3 separate regions of the Homo sapiens genome follow, and all the other regions are linked to region 1. Evidence: promoter capture Hi-C in 16 types of primary human blood cells and fetal thymus (Javierre and others, 2016). All regions are on one chromosome and are shown on one strand. The core of a region is centred on a gene start or on the middle of the fragment in contact, and the rest is flanking DNA. Distances in the headings are between cores, read along the strand shown.

Region 1 (4,268 bases), core at 1,282-3,781:
TCTGCCCGCCTCAGCCTCCCAAAGTACTGGGATTATAGGCATGAGCCACCACGCCCAGCCTGTTATTTTTTTATTATTATTGTTTTTTTTTAGTGACAGAGTCTCATTCTGTTGCCCATGCTGGAGTGCAGTGGCGTGATCATAGCTCACTGCAGCCTTGAATTCCTAGGCTCCAGTGATCCTCTCACCTCAGCTTCCCTAATAGCTAGGATTACAGGTGTGTGGCCTCCCACCCCACCCCACCCTTCACACCTGGCTGATTTTTCAAAAAGTTTTTTTGTAGAAACAGGGTCTCACCATGTTGTCCAGCCTGGTCTCAAACTCCTGTCCTCAAGTGATCCTCCCACCTCAGCCTTTCAAAGTGCTGGAATTACAGGTGTGAGCCACTCTGCCTGGCCTACCACTAACTTGAATACATTCAGAATCACCTCCTCTCCCCAAAATTTGTAGAAATAGTTTTTGAGGAAGCCAAAAGCAAAGCAGAAACCTTTACAGTATTGTTTCTTTTCTCTTTGTTAACTGTGTCATTACAGCAAAATACTAGCAGTCTGCCTAAACATGTTCATTGTACATTTCTCAGGCTATCAATGAATGGAGGTTTTTAAAAAGTTGAATATTTGTCTGAACATTTTATTTCAAAGTTCAAAAAAACAGAGGCTGCAAAATTCATTTTATAATGGCTATTTTGTGACGATAAGATGTAGTTCATGTTTTTCTGTAGCACTGGGCCCAAATATTCTTTGTAAAGAAAATCGCTGCAGCAAAAACTGTTACTGTGTTTATTATATTTGTAGAAGTATTAGAAAAATATTCTATTTTTTATTCAGTGCTGCGTAATTACCCATGGTAGCCAACCCTACAAAAGACAGGTTTTCACAAATTGAGGTGGAGGTGGGCGGTTCAGTATCTGCCACTGGACTTGATTATAAACTGTATTTGAATATCAGTGGTATTATCTTTTAAGTTGTCAGCAAGTTACCAAGGTATTCATTAAAGAACTTGTAATATCAAATTACTATTTATTCATAACAATTGATTTGATGCTAATAATAATTTTCTTTAAACTCTACCATTCATTATGTGGTAACTGTATTGAACTTACTTTATTTGGATTTTATTTTAATGTGACTAGATGTCACCACTTCAAAAAATCAATTTGTTCTTAGAACCTGGTTGAAAATACCAGGAAACTGTTACAGACGCCATTTTTTTTTTTTTTGAGACGGAGTCTTGCTCTGTTGCCCAGGCTGGAGTGCAGTGGCACAATCTCAGCTCACTGCAAGCTCCGCCTCCTGGGTTCACGCCATTCTCCCACCTCAGCTTCCCAAGCAGCTGGGACTACAGGTACCTGCCACCACGCCTGGCTAATTTTGTTTTTGTATTTTTAGTAGAGACGGGGTTTCACCGTGTTAGCCAGGAAGGTCTCAATCTCCTGACCTCGTGAATCGCCCCCCTCGGTCTCCCAAAGTGCTGGGATTACAGGCGTGAGCCACCATGCCCGGCCCAAATATTTTTTATTCAGGATGGTATAACCTAACTGATAATAGGTAATAAGGTTAAATTTTTTTATGACGTATTTTATTTACAAATATCATACACTGCTGGTGTTACCATATGAAAGGAAATAAAGTCAATTGATAATTGCCTCATTTTTATTGCCCTTATTTCATTTTCCGTTGTTCATAGTAACAGGCTTTGTTTCTGACATAGAAAATAACACAATCTCTTTATAAACTGCCATAAATTTGTTCGAATGGAGTTTATAATGTGTATCAACAGATAGGAATTTGAGGCCTTTGTTTGAGAAGCTTTTGTAGGAAAAGAAGCAACTGAGCTGGGGAATGAAGAATCATGGCAGAAGGTAAAAGAAACAAAAACAAACAAAAAAAGAAAATAGGAAAAGCAAATGGAAATGACTCACCTAGAGATTGGAAGAAGTTAGTTGTAGAAAGAGGTGTATGGATATTTAAAAAACTAACATAGGGCTGGGTGCAGTGGCTCATGCCTATAATCCCAGCACTTTGGGAGGCCGAGGCGGGAGGATTGCTTGAGCCTAGGAGATTGAGACCAGCCAGGACAACATGGTGAAACCCCACCTCTACAAAAAATACACAAAAATTAGCCAGGTGTGGTGGTATACACTTGTAGCCCCAGCTACTCAAGAGGCTGAGGTGAGATCACCTGAGCCCAGGGAGGTTGAAGCTGCAGTGAGCCATGATTGCGCCACTGCACTCCAGCCTGGGTAGCAGAGTGAGACCCTGTCTCAAAAAACAAAAACAAAAAGAACTAACGTGCTATTTTTACTTCAACTAAAACTTGGAAAGAGGAAACATGTTGGAAGAGATTACCAAAGATTAAAAGTAGAGTGAATATAACCTAGATAGAACAGATGTTTTGTGTGAAATTTAGTATCTTTAACTTAATAAACCAGCAGGAACTGTATGAACACAACACACCCAACTGACAAACAGAGAGAACTAACATGTTTATTTAGCTGTATGTATATATGCTTAACTACACCCGAGGAAGCTGTAGAGTTAGAAAAACATGAACCATTAACAGATGTGGCCTCCCTGCAGAACTTTTACTTTGAAAAAGAAGTACGTCTGAACCAGATTCACATGTTTGATATTTGGATGCAGAGAAAATGGGGCAGAAAGCATCGCAACAGTTGGCTCTGAAGGACAGCAAAGAGGTGCCCGTCGTCTGTGAGGTGGTCAGTGAAGCTATAGTCCATGCAGCTCAGAAACTGAAGGAGTACCTTGGATTTGAATATCCTCCAAGTAAACTCTGCCCAGCTGCAAATACTCTGAATGAGATCTTCTTAATCCATTTCATCACTTTCTGCCAAGAAAAGGGAGTTGATGAGTGGCTGACCACCACCAAGATGACCAAGCACCAAGCCTTCCTGTTTGGTGCAGACTGGATTTGGACCTTTTGGGGATCCAACAAGCAAATAAAGCTTCAGCTCGCAGTACAGACTCTGCAGATGTCTTCACCTCCTCCTGTGGAATCTAAGCCTTGTGACCTTTCCAATCCAGAATCAAGGGTAGAGGAGTCTTCCTGGAAGAAAAGTAGATTTGATAAGCTGGAAGAATTCTGTAACTTAATAGGAGAGGATTGCCTGGGTCTGTTTATCATCTTTGGTATGCCAGGAAAGCCTAAAGACATCAGGGGAGTTGTCCTGGACAGTGTCAAAAGTCAGATGGTGAGGAGCCATCTGCCAGGAGGGAAGGCTGTGGCTCAGTTTGTCCTGGAAACTGAAGATTGTGTGTTCATCAAAGAGCTGCTCAGAAATTGTCTGAGTAAGAAAGACGGGCTGAGAGAGGTGGGCAAGGTTTATATCAGCATTCTCTGACTTGGATATGTATTATGTGAGTGGCCTGTAAGAGGAAAAGAAAAAAAGATTCTAATAAGCAAGCTCACCTATTTGCATCATTCCAGCATGGGATTTTTTTTCATTTGTTTTCCCATTGATTGAAAATGATTACTGGGATCAAAGTACATTCATGTCGCAATTACAGAGAGAGAGAGAAAAAAAGAAAACCCTGGCTCTGCCTATGATTTAAAAACAGTTCAGGAAAAGTTATAATTTAGTTTAATATTTCATTCACTTATTCAATAATAAAAATGGAAGAGAGATAATAAAGTCACATTTAAAGTTTGATTTGCAAAAAAAAAGTGTCTGTTTGAAATAATAAGTCTAGCACTCAAAAGTATAAAATGTGTTTTTGCATCTGTTGGTGGGAGATGGGTAGGATAAAGTAGTGGGTAAGGCTACAGAGCAGGTTTAATTACATTTGTAATGCCAGTTTCAAGCCAGGCACAGTGGCTTATGCCTATGGTCTCAGCTACTCAGTAGGCTGAGGTGGGAGGATCGCTTGAGCCCAGGAGTTTAAGGCTACAGTGAGCTGTGATTGCACCACTGTGCTCTAGCCTGGGCAACAGAGTGAATCCTCATCTTTAAAAAAAAAAAAATAGTTTGGGTTCAGGACTCCTGCACAAAACTCACAGCGTTCTTTTCCTCTAACACTTACCTTATTCTGTCTTCTCCCTAGCTGCTGTCTCTGCACTGAGAGGACTTTGATGGGATTTACTTTGAGATTCACTTTAGTGTTAGCTCTGCCTATGATTTAAAAACAGTGACCTATAAAACTATTCCTTTTAATAATACTTGTTTAGCCTTTGCAGTAAGGAAGGTGTATTCACATATAATAACCATTTTTACTTAAAAGCCAGTGTGGAATTATAACAGTACAAAAAGGAAT
Region 2 (4,268 bases), core at 1,086-3,585, 320 kb before region 1:
AATACTGTTAGAAGAGATGATCCTTCTAGTGAGAGTGTAACTACAATATTCTTTTAATCATAACATTTTAATTTTAATCAAATTGCTCTGTAATCCCAGCTCCTTGGAAGGCAGAGGCAGAATAATCATTTGAGCCCAGAAGTTTGAGGCTGCAGTGAGCTATGATCATACAACTGCACTGCAACCTGGGCAACAGAGTGAGACCTTGTCTTTAAAAAGATAAAGAAAAAAATCTAATTGCTCACAAATAGAACAAAGTATGAGTAGATAACTGAATTTTATGTGAATACAATTTAATCTGAATCCTATCCACTTCGCCCAACAGTGTGTATTTTGTTCCAGGAGTGTCATTGCCGAGGGTGAATGGTTGGGGCAGGGGGTGTGGTAGCTCCCACAGCCTTCATCGGTGTTCCTCCCTACCCACCTCCCTACTCTTATCTGGAAAAATTACACTTTCTTTTATCCAATTTAAAGTCTTTATAAAAACAGATCAGGGAAGTCTCCCACTTACCCTCTTTCTCATCAGATTGCCCCTAAACTATTCTAATAGAGAAATTCTGGAGTTGCTGTGTGTTGTAGGAGAGGGATTTACAGCAAAGTGTGACAGGTAAAATCATGTAATTCTTGAAATCTAAGATACACTTTTCTCCTCTACGTTTTATCTTCTGTGGAAATTTCTTATCATCAGTGGCATCTTCCTGTCAATTGGCAGCATTTCTTTCTCTTGTGATGCTTTAAATAATAGTGCGTCTTACAATTGGTGGCTCTTAGATTTGATGAAATAAGGGTAGTGGTATGAAAGGTACTGAGGTAGCTTAGAGAGAGCAGTGATTAATCATGTAGTAGTCAGAGAAAGCTTCCCAGAAGAATAACTGAGTTGGATTTTGAAGAAAGAATAGGATTTCTCCAACAGTATAGTCAGAAAGGACTTTGTAAGCCTGGTAAAGAGCAAGGCATGGAGGAGATGTGAGACGGTATGGCATGTGTGAGGATGAGCAAGTCTTCAGGCGTTGCTGCTGTGGAACATTTGGAGCTGTCGGGGAAAGTCTTGAAGAGAGAAACTGGAGATGAAGACATGAGGCAGATCAGGGAGAACCCTGGCCTATAATTAGGGAATCTGGCTAGTCCTCTTGGGCAGTGGAAATGCAGTGAATAGTTTTATGCAAGGGGATTAGGTGACTGGATTTGTTTTACTACATAATTTTGGAAGTCATAGAATAGACTAGGAGAGGAAGGAACAGCAGTTTAAAAGGTTTTGGGGTAATGCAATGAGCCTAAATTAAGATGATGACAGAGGGGATGGAGAGGAAGAGAAGACATATTTAAGAAATATTTTAAGATCTAGAATTGACAGGAGTTTGTGATTCTTTGGCTTTTTAGGGTGAAGAGGAAGGGTCTAAACCAGGGGTATCCAATCGTTTGGTTTCCCTGGGTCACGTTGGAAGAAGAAAAATTGTCTTGGGCCACACATAAAATACACTAACACTAATGATAGCTAGTGAGCTAAAAAAAAAAAATCTCATAATGTTTTTGGAAAGTTTATGAATTTGTGTTGGGCTGCATTCAAAGCCATCCTGGAGCACAGTTTGGACAAGCTTAGTCTAGATTGAGTCTAGTTGTGTTACCTACCAAGATAAACCCTATAGAAGGAAGATAAACCCTATAAATCAGGAGTAGTACAGGAAGAATTGAAAATGGGGGTACATCGCAGAGAATGCATGCAGTTTGGGGTTTCTTGAATTTTAGATTTCTTGAGAATCATTTAGGTTTATAATTCTAGTTCCAAAGGTCAGGAACTGAGTGAAGTATGAATGAGATAGGGTTATAATAACAAATAGCTTATGAGTAGCTGTAAAGCCTTGTGAGGGAATGAGATCTCAGGGTGAATAAAGAGTGAGGAGAGAGCGGTGCTAAGCAGGGAATCTTAGTGCACACCAGTATTTAAGGATCAAGTAAGAGCTGGGTGAGGAGACGAGGGGACTGAACCGAGCAGGGAGAGTGGAGGAGGACCAGGAGGCAGAGAGGCTGTGGAGACCAGGGGAGAATGAGAAGTGTCAGCAGTGTCAGATTCAAGGCAGGGATCAGCAAGAGATCGCAAGAGAGAAGGAGGATCTTCGCTGGGACAGTTTTAGTGGGGCAGGGGTTGTGGAAGGTTAATGTTACAGATGGACAGATGCCTGGGAAATGAAAGATTGAGTGGAAATTGCACTCTTTCAGGGAGTTTGCTGAGGGGGGAAGACGGTAGCAAGAACAAAAAACAACTAGAATTAGTGAAAGGGTTTTTTTTTTCAGGGGGAAGATACTTGAGCACATTTATAGACCCATGATAAGGAGCTATAAAAATAATGAGGTTAAGATGCTGACAACTATTTATGCAAATACCAGAGAATAGTTAGCTTTGAACAGAAGGGCACCCATCTCTTCTCTAATATTGGAAACAGGTGGAAAAACCACCTGGGCTCTCAGACAGATGTCTTTGTTTTTAAATATTTCAGAAAATGAGGTAGGGAGGGACTGACCAAGGGCAGCGAGTTTTATGAATGCTGTTCCTGGTCTCAGCAGCGCTTTCCTCTTCCCTCACTGACAACTGCAGGGCCCAAGTGGGGAGGAAGAACAGTGTGTGCCTGCTGGGCTCAGCATCTGCTCCAGTGAGCAACACGGGGGTGACTGGGGGTCTGCTGAATGTTAAATATAAAGGAAGTTCCTTTTCCCTCTTAGAGAAGCTCATAGCCAAACTGAAAAGCGGAGGAGAGATAAAATGAATAACCTGATTGAAGAACTGTCTGCAATGATCCCTCAGTGCAACCCCATGGCGCGTAAACTGGACAAACTTACAGTTTTAAGAATGGCTGTTCAACACTTGAGATCTTTAAAAGGTGAGTTTGACGATGGCTTCCACACTTCGATAAGTGAAATCTGCTCTGTCACTGAGGTCTCTGATTGGTTCGCTTTGCTGTCAGCTGTTGAGGTTCTATCCAGATGTGTCTTTCAGCTTTAGAGGTATTCACTGGCATTTGTCTATAGTCTGTATGTGGAGAGAATACTGAATTGGATGTCAGAAAACTTGGTTCTGATAAAAGCTTTTTCTCAAGCTCACTATACAACCTTGAAAGGTATTTACATTTCTTCTTCACATATATTATGAAGAGAATATCACCTGCCTTTCATACCTCTCAATTCTTTAGAAGTTCTGAAGTTGAGCTGGGCGTGGTGGCTCATGCTTGTAATCCCCGTACTTTGGGAGGCTGAGGTGGGCGGATGGCTTGAGTCCAGATTTCGAAACAAGCCTGGGCAAAAAAATGCAAAAATTAGCCAAGTGTGGTCTTGCGTGCTTGTAGTCCCAGCTACCTGGGAGGCTGAGGTGGGAGGATCGCTTGAGCCTGGGAGGTGGAGGTTGCAGTGAGCAGTAATCATGCCACTGCACTCCAGCCTGGGTGACAGCCTGTCTCAGAAAAAAAAAAAAGTTCTGAAGTATAGTATTAATTATTAAGTTATTGAGAGATTTCTATCCTTCAAAAAGAAAACTTCCTTAAACTCTGCAGTTTCTCTTAAAGCTTCATTCAGATTTACGAGTAGTACCTTATAATGCATCACATGTTGCCATTCAGAGTATCCTCAAATATGTGAGACACTGGGGGAAGGAGGTCCTTGCCACTGCCTCTTGGTGTGTGGGTGATCATTTCTGGCTTTAGCAATTCCCCAACTTGAGCTTGAATTTTAAATCAAAGTGTAATAAATGTATATGTGTACCTGTGTATTAGTCCATTCTTGCATTGCTATGAAGGAATACCTGAGACTGGGTAATTTATAATGAAAAGAAGTTTAATTGGCTCCCGGTTCCACAGGCTGTGCAGGAAGCATGGTGGCTTCTGCTTCTGGGGAGGCCTCAGGGAGCTTTCACTCATGGCAGAAGGCAAAGTGGGAGCCGGCATCTTACATGGCAGGAGCAGGACCAAGAGAGGGTAGGGGAGGTGCCACACACTTTCAACAACCAGATCTCATGAGAACTCACTATTGTGACACAGTATCAAGGGGAAAATCCACAAGCATGATCCAGTCACCTCCCACCAGGCCCCACCTCCAGCACTGGGGATTATTATTCGACATGAGATTTGGGCGGGGACACAGAGCCAAACCATGTCAACATGTGCGGTAGAAATCACCCCTGTTTTGGGAATAGCCCCAGTCCAACTTGGGTGAAGTGGAATAGAGTTTTCGATTTACCAATGCCGATGATGTAAATTTGCACTGAAAAGATAAGACCTGGC
Region 3 (4,268 bases), core at 990-3,489, 300 kb before region 1:
GCAGCAGACACACAGCGAGGGAGTGGGCGCCTGCTGTAGGAATGTGTTCCTGCCCACACCAGGATGTTCACTCCCACGCCAAGCTGGGCCACACAGATGCTTGCACTCAGAGGCAAATATCTTTTCAAAAAGGAGTTTTGAATCTGCTCAAGCCCTGGAACCACATATTCACTTAACACACTAGAGGTCTGTACCAAATGCACAGGCCTAAGCAATGGTAAGGGAATGTGTCAGCATTCAGTGTGGCCCTTCCTTGCAGGACCTGGTTTGAGAACTGCCTGTAGACAGCTGGGCCAGGATAAGGTTACTGCAGAATATAAACCCTGATTTGCCACCTGGATGACCTGCTTGAGGGTCATTTTGTCTTCTGCTTTAACCAGGGAGAGTGTCTGTCAAGTGAAATTACATTTTTCATATGGTCGTTTTGAAATTACTCTTTCAAATAGTAATTAACCAGTGGAATTCACTGTGGTTTTGTTTGTTTGTTTGTTTGTTTGTTTGTTTATTTATTTATTGAGATGGAGTCTTGCTCTGTGGTCCAGGCTGGAGTGCAGTGGCATGATCTCGGCTCACTGCAACCTCTGCCTCCTGGGTTCAAGCCGTTCTCCTGCTTCAGCCTCCCAAGTAACTGGGACTACAGGCACATGCCACCAAACCTGGCTAATTTTTTGTATTTTTAGTAGAGATGGGGTTTCACCATTTTAGCCAGGATGGTCTTGATCTCCTGACCTTGTGATCCGCCAACCTTGGCCTCCCAAAGTGCTGGGATTATAGGCGTGAGCCACCACGCCCAGCCAATTCACTGTGTTTTAGACTGCTCATTATTAATGATGAAAGCCTGTGGTTAGTAAAGGTGTTTTTCTTCCCTTTTACCATGACATGTCAGTTACATTTAAACTTAGAGGAAGACTAGAGAGCAGCCCTTTTTATTTTAATTGGAAGTTGAATTTAAGATTTATGGAAAGGCCATTTCTCAGGATTTCTCAAGATGAGTTACCCAAGTTTATTTCTGATTTTGCATTATGTTTGAGATTTTACATAATAAAAGATTTTTTAAAAATAACATTGACATTTTAAAAAATTATTTATATCCTGAATCAAACCTTCATGGGTCACGGATTCAGACTTTGAAAAAGCTTCTAAGGTAGAGAGACAATTACTCAGGTATCTGAAGTTGTGAAATCGCAGGCTGATGAAGGATGGGTGACTGCTACCAAATGTCTTAAGTGTTTCTTAAATTTATCTTCATAAGATAATTGTGCATGAGGAAGAAGTGCAACAGTACACCCAGAATCCACTTGTTTCTTGTGCATGTGTGGCAGATGCTATCTGTCAGTGCCCCATGGCATATCCCCCCAGCACCCACTACTGCGGACAGGGCATGCCACTGGCCTCCAGTGTCCAAAGCCGGGACTCTCCGCCTGATCTCCTCTGGTCTCTGGAGCCAGTTCTGCCTGTGGCTCCAGGAACTTGCAGGTTTCAGGTACTTTATTAGCTTCCTTCTCTTCCGTGTCTCATTTCCCAGTTCCCTGCCAGTGTTTCCTGGGACCACCCCTCAAATAAACTTCTTATATTTGAATCCTTGTTTTGGATCTGCTTCCTCAAGATTTCAAGTGAAGACAGCAAGACACCAAGTTGAGAGACCTAGCCTGCAACATGTTGAGGAAAAATTTCATAAAGGATTTTGAAAGGATGTCCTGTAAATTAAGGCAGTGTTTAGGGTAATACAGGCTTTTTCTCCCTCTCCTCACCCCCACACACATTTGGGAACTCATGGAGTAGATGACACTTGAATCTAGCCTGTGGAGCCGATGTAAGTAAATAGTTTGGCAAGGATCAGTCCTCATGACTCCAATATTTAGATAAAAAGCTAAAGAATTATTGAGATAAGAATTTTTAACCCACTTCCCATTTGCCCTGAGAATACTGCACTGGTAGCGAGCTGTATTTTTTTCTTTTCTAAATAGGAAATGGATTAAATGGGATTTTTAAAAAAAAAACTTAGATAGCTGATCAAATGAATTGCAGTTGATAGAATTACACAATCCCAGCTAGAAATTTGCCAACTGAATAAATGTTCACAGTGAGAAGTGAGGGACAGTTCGATTTGGAAATATAGATAGTAACCTGTTGTAAGAGAGAAGTAAATGCAACAGGCTAGGTTCTATGTGATGAGATTACATATATAAATTAAAAATACAGACTTTCTTAAGTCTATATTTTCAGTAGAGTGGAATATTTTTAGTCAGTATCATTCATAAGTTTGCAAAAATGCTGAACCTGATGTATAAGCCCTTTTATTTTTAACTGCCATCTAGCTTTGTTAAATGAAAACTTTTATTCGTACTTACTCAATTTTAATTCCTTTGAGGCATCTGGGTTGTTAGGGGGAGGTAGAGCCTAGGATGACCCCCAGATTTCTCTTTGAACTGCCTGGGTTGATCGTGGCACCAGTAAACAGGGTAGGGAATAAGTGATAAAGACTGGGTTTGGGTTGGAAGAGGTAAGGAGTTTTGTAATTTAGGGCATCTGTGGCCTGGGAAGGGAGTGGTGTTTGTGAAATGTTGGATACAAGGTTTTATGCATGGCTTACAACCTGCCCTCTGTTCCCTGCTTTATTTTCCAGCCTTTCCCACTGCAGCATATGCTTCAGCCGCATCTGACCGCTCTCTCTCAGTTCTCACTGGTCATTCCCTCTGGCTGGAACACCTTTGTGCCCCTCCCCTTCTGTCACCCAGGCAACTCCTATTTGAACATCTTTGGTGACAGAGCACTCACTATCAGCAAATGGTGTGGCATTAGTGATTTAGAAAGTGGGCTCTGGAGCCAGCCTGAGTTTTAACCCCAGCTCCATCCTGTACCTGGTGTGACCTTGCCATTAACTCAGTTTCCTAGGACAATGGAGATACTAGAACATCCCATAGAGCTGTTAAGATTAAATGAGTTATACGTTTAAAGCACTTTAAACAGACTGTGACACATAAAGTATTCTCTAAATCTTTGCTATTATTGTTAACTACTATCTTATATGACAGTTCATATCATGTTCTATTTAAACAAAAATTTAAAGGATTTATTGTAATGGAACTTTTACCAAATAGTGCCAATTTGAAACAATGATTGTTCTAATCTTTTCTAAATCTTATCATAAAAACAGCTGTTTCAAATAATTTTTATCAGGCTTTCCCCCTACTTTTTAACCTTTAAATCACTTTTGTGGCATGCCATAATCTGTAGCCTACTCATTGTTTATGCCCGTATTGGATTTATTTTTTGCTTAAGCATGATATTTGAGGATATAGATTATTTCCAATTTTTTATTATTTTGGTGGACATGCTTGACAAGCTTCTTCCTATGAGTTAATTGCTTGGGATTTTCCTAAAAAGTGAAATTTATTTTATTTTTGTACTTTTCACTATAAATTTCTCCAAGTGTTCTTTAAAATGTTTCTATAATCTATTATAACCTTATGTATCTGTTAACCATTATAAGCACTAACATAAGAAATTTAAGAATGTATGCATAATTATTTAAATGTCTTTTTAAAGTTTTGAATATAAGTTACGATATACCAAAAAACTTAATAAGGTGAAAACAATATTGCAAGGGGGCATGAGGATTAATTTTTTCTAATAGATGTAAATTACTATAATTTTAAAAATTGACTTGGAAATATGTTAAGTCATAGACCTAGTTAATCCTAAAATAGAGCAACCTGTTCGTTTTTTCATGTAGTACATACAATTTAGTTCCTGAGAAAAATAATCTATTAATAATAAAGTCATGAAATAAACAAAATTGGTGATATCTTTTCAATGGAATACCATTCCCCTTTCATATTTTAGCATATTTAAAGAGCATTTTATAGCACAATTATAACTATTATAGATGTCAATATAAGAAATTTAATGACTTATTTATAATGATCCAAATGTCCTTTTTAAAAATCTTTGAATTAGAGCACAGAAAATTCTATACTATCCATTGCACTGGTTACTTGAGAAGCTGGCCTCCAAATATTGTTGGAATGGAAGAAGAAAGGAACAGTAAGAAAGACAACAGTAATTTTACCTGCCTTGTGGCCATTGGAAGATTACAGCCATATATTGTTCCACAGAACAGTGGAGAGATTAATGTGAAACCAACTGAATTTATAACCCGGTTTGCAGTGAATGGAAAATTTGTCTATGTAGATCAAAGGTAAACATTTACATGTTATAATGATTAGAATTCAATGGGATATTTGAAGCTATTAAAGGCGTGTCTT

What was found. Contacts are between HindIII fragments. The CHiCAGO score rates a contact against its expected background, and 5 or more counts as called.
Region 2: a contact is called between a fragment that was not itself captured here and the fragment with the promoter of REP15 in region 1, in 1 of 17 cell types (endothelial precursors). The highest score is 5.8, in endothelial precursors.
Region 3: a fragment that was not itself captured here is called in contact with the fragment with the promoter of REP15 in region 1 in 1 of 17 cell types (endothelial precursors); the score reaches 5.8 in endothelial precursors.

The regions. Positions count from the first base shown.
Region 1 is chr12:27,693,916-27,698,183 of GRCh38, forward strand. It overlaps REP15 (RAB15 effector protein), which reads left to right and starts at 2,532. Exons shown (of 1, transcript NM_001029874.3): 1 at 2,532-3,681. The coding sequence starts at 2,648. The coding sequence ends at 3,358. It overlaps PPFIBP1 (PPFIB scaffold protein 1), which reads left to right. Exons shown (of 30, transcript NM_003622.4): 30 at 1-1,649. The region is part of intron 3 of MRPS35-DT (MRPS35 divergent transcript); the gene reads right to left. The HindIII fragment of the contact is 1,154 bases long and covers 1,807-2,960 here.
Region 2 is chr12:27,377,529-27,381,796 of GRCh38, forward strand. BMAL2 (basic helix-loop-helix ARNT like 2) reads left to right here. Exons shown (of 17, transcript NM_020183.6): 5 at 2,719-2,876. Among named protein-coding and RNA genes, the nearest start is that of BMAL2, 47 kb to the left of the region's middle. The HindIII fragment of the contact is 1,485 bases long and covers 1,594-3,078 here.
Region 3 is chr12:27,396,574-27,400,841 of GRCh38, forward strand. It overlaps BMAL2 (basic helix-loop-helix ARNT like 2), which reads left to right. Exons shown (of 17, transcript NM_020183.6): 10 at 3,961-4,201. All of the region lies in intron 1 of BMAL2-AS1 (BMAL2 antisense RNA 1), which reads right to left. Among named protein-coding and RNA genes, the nearest start is that of BMAL2-AS1, 48 kb to the right of the region's middle. The HindIII fragment of the contact is 2,210 bases long and covers 1,135-3,344 here.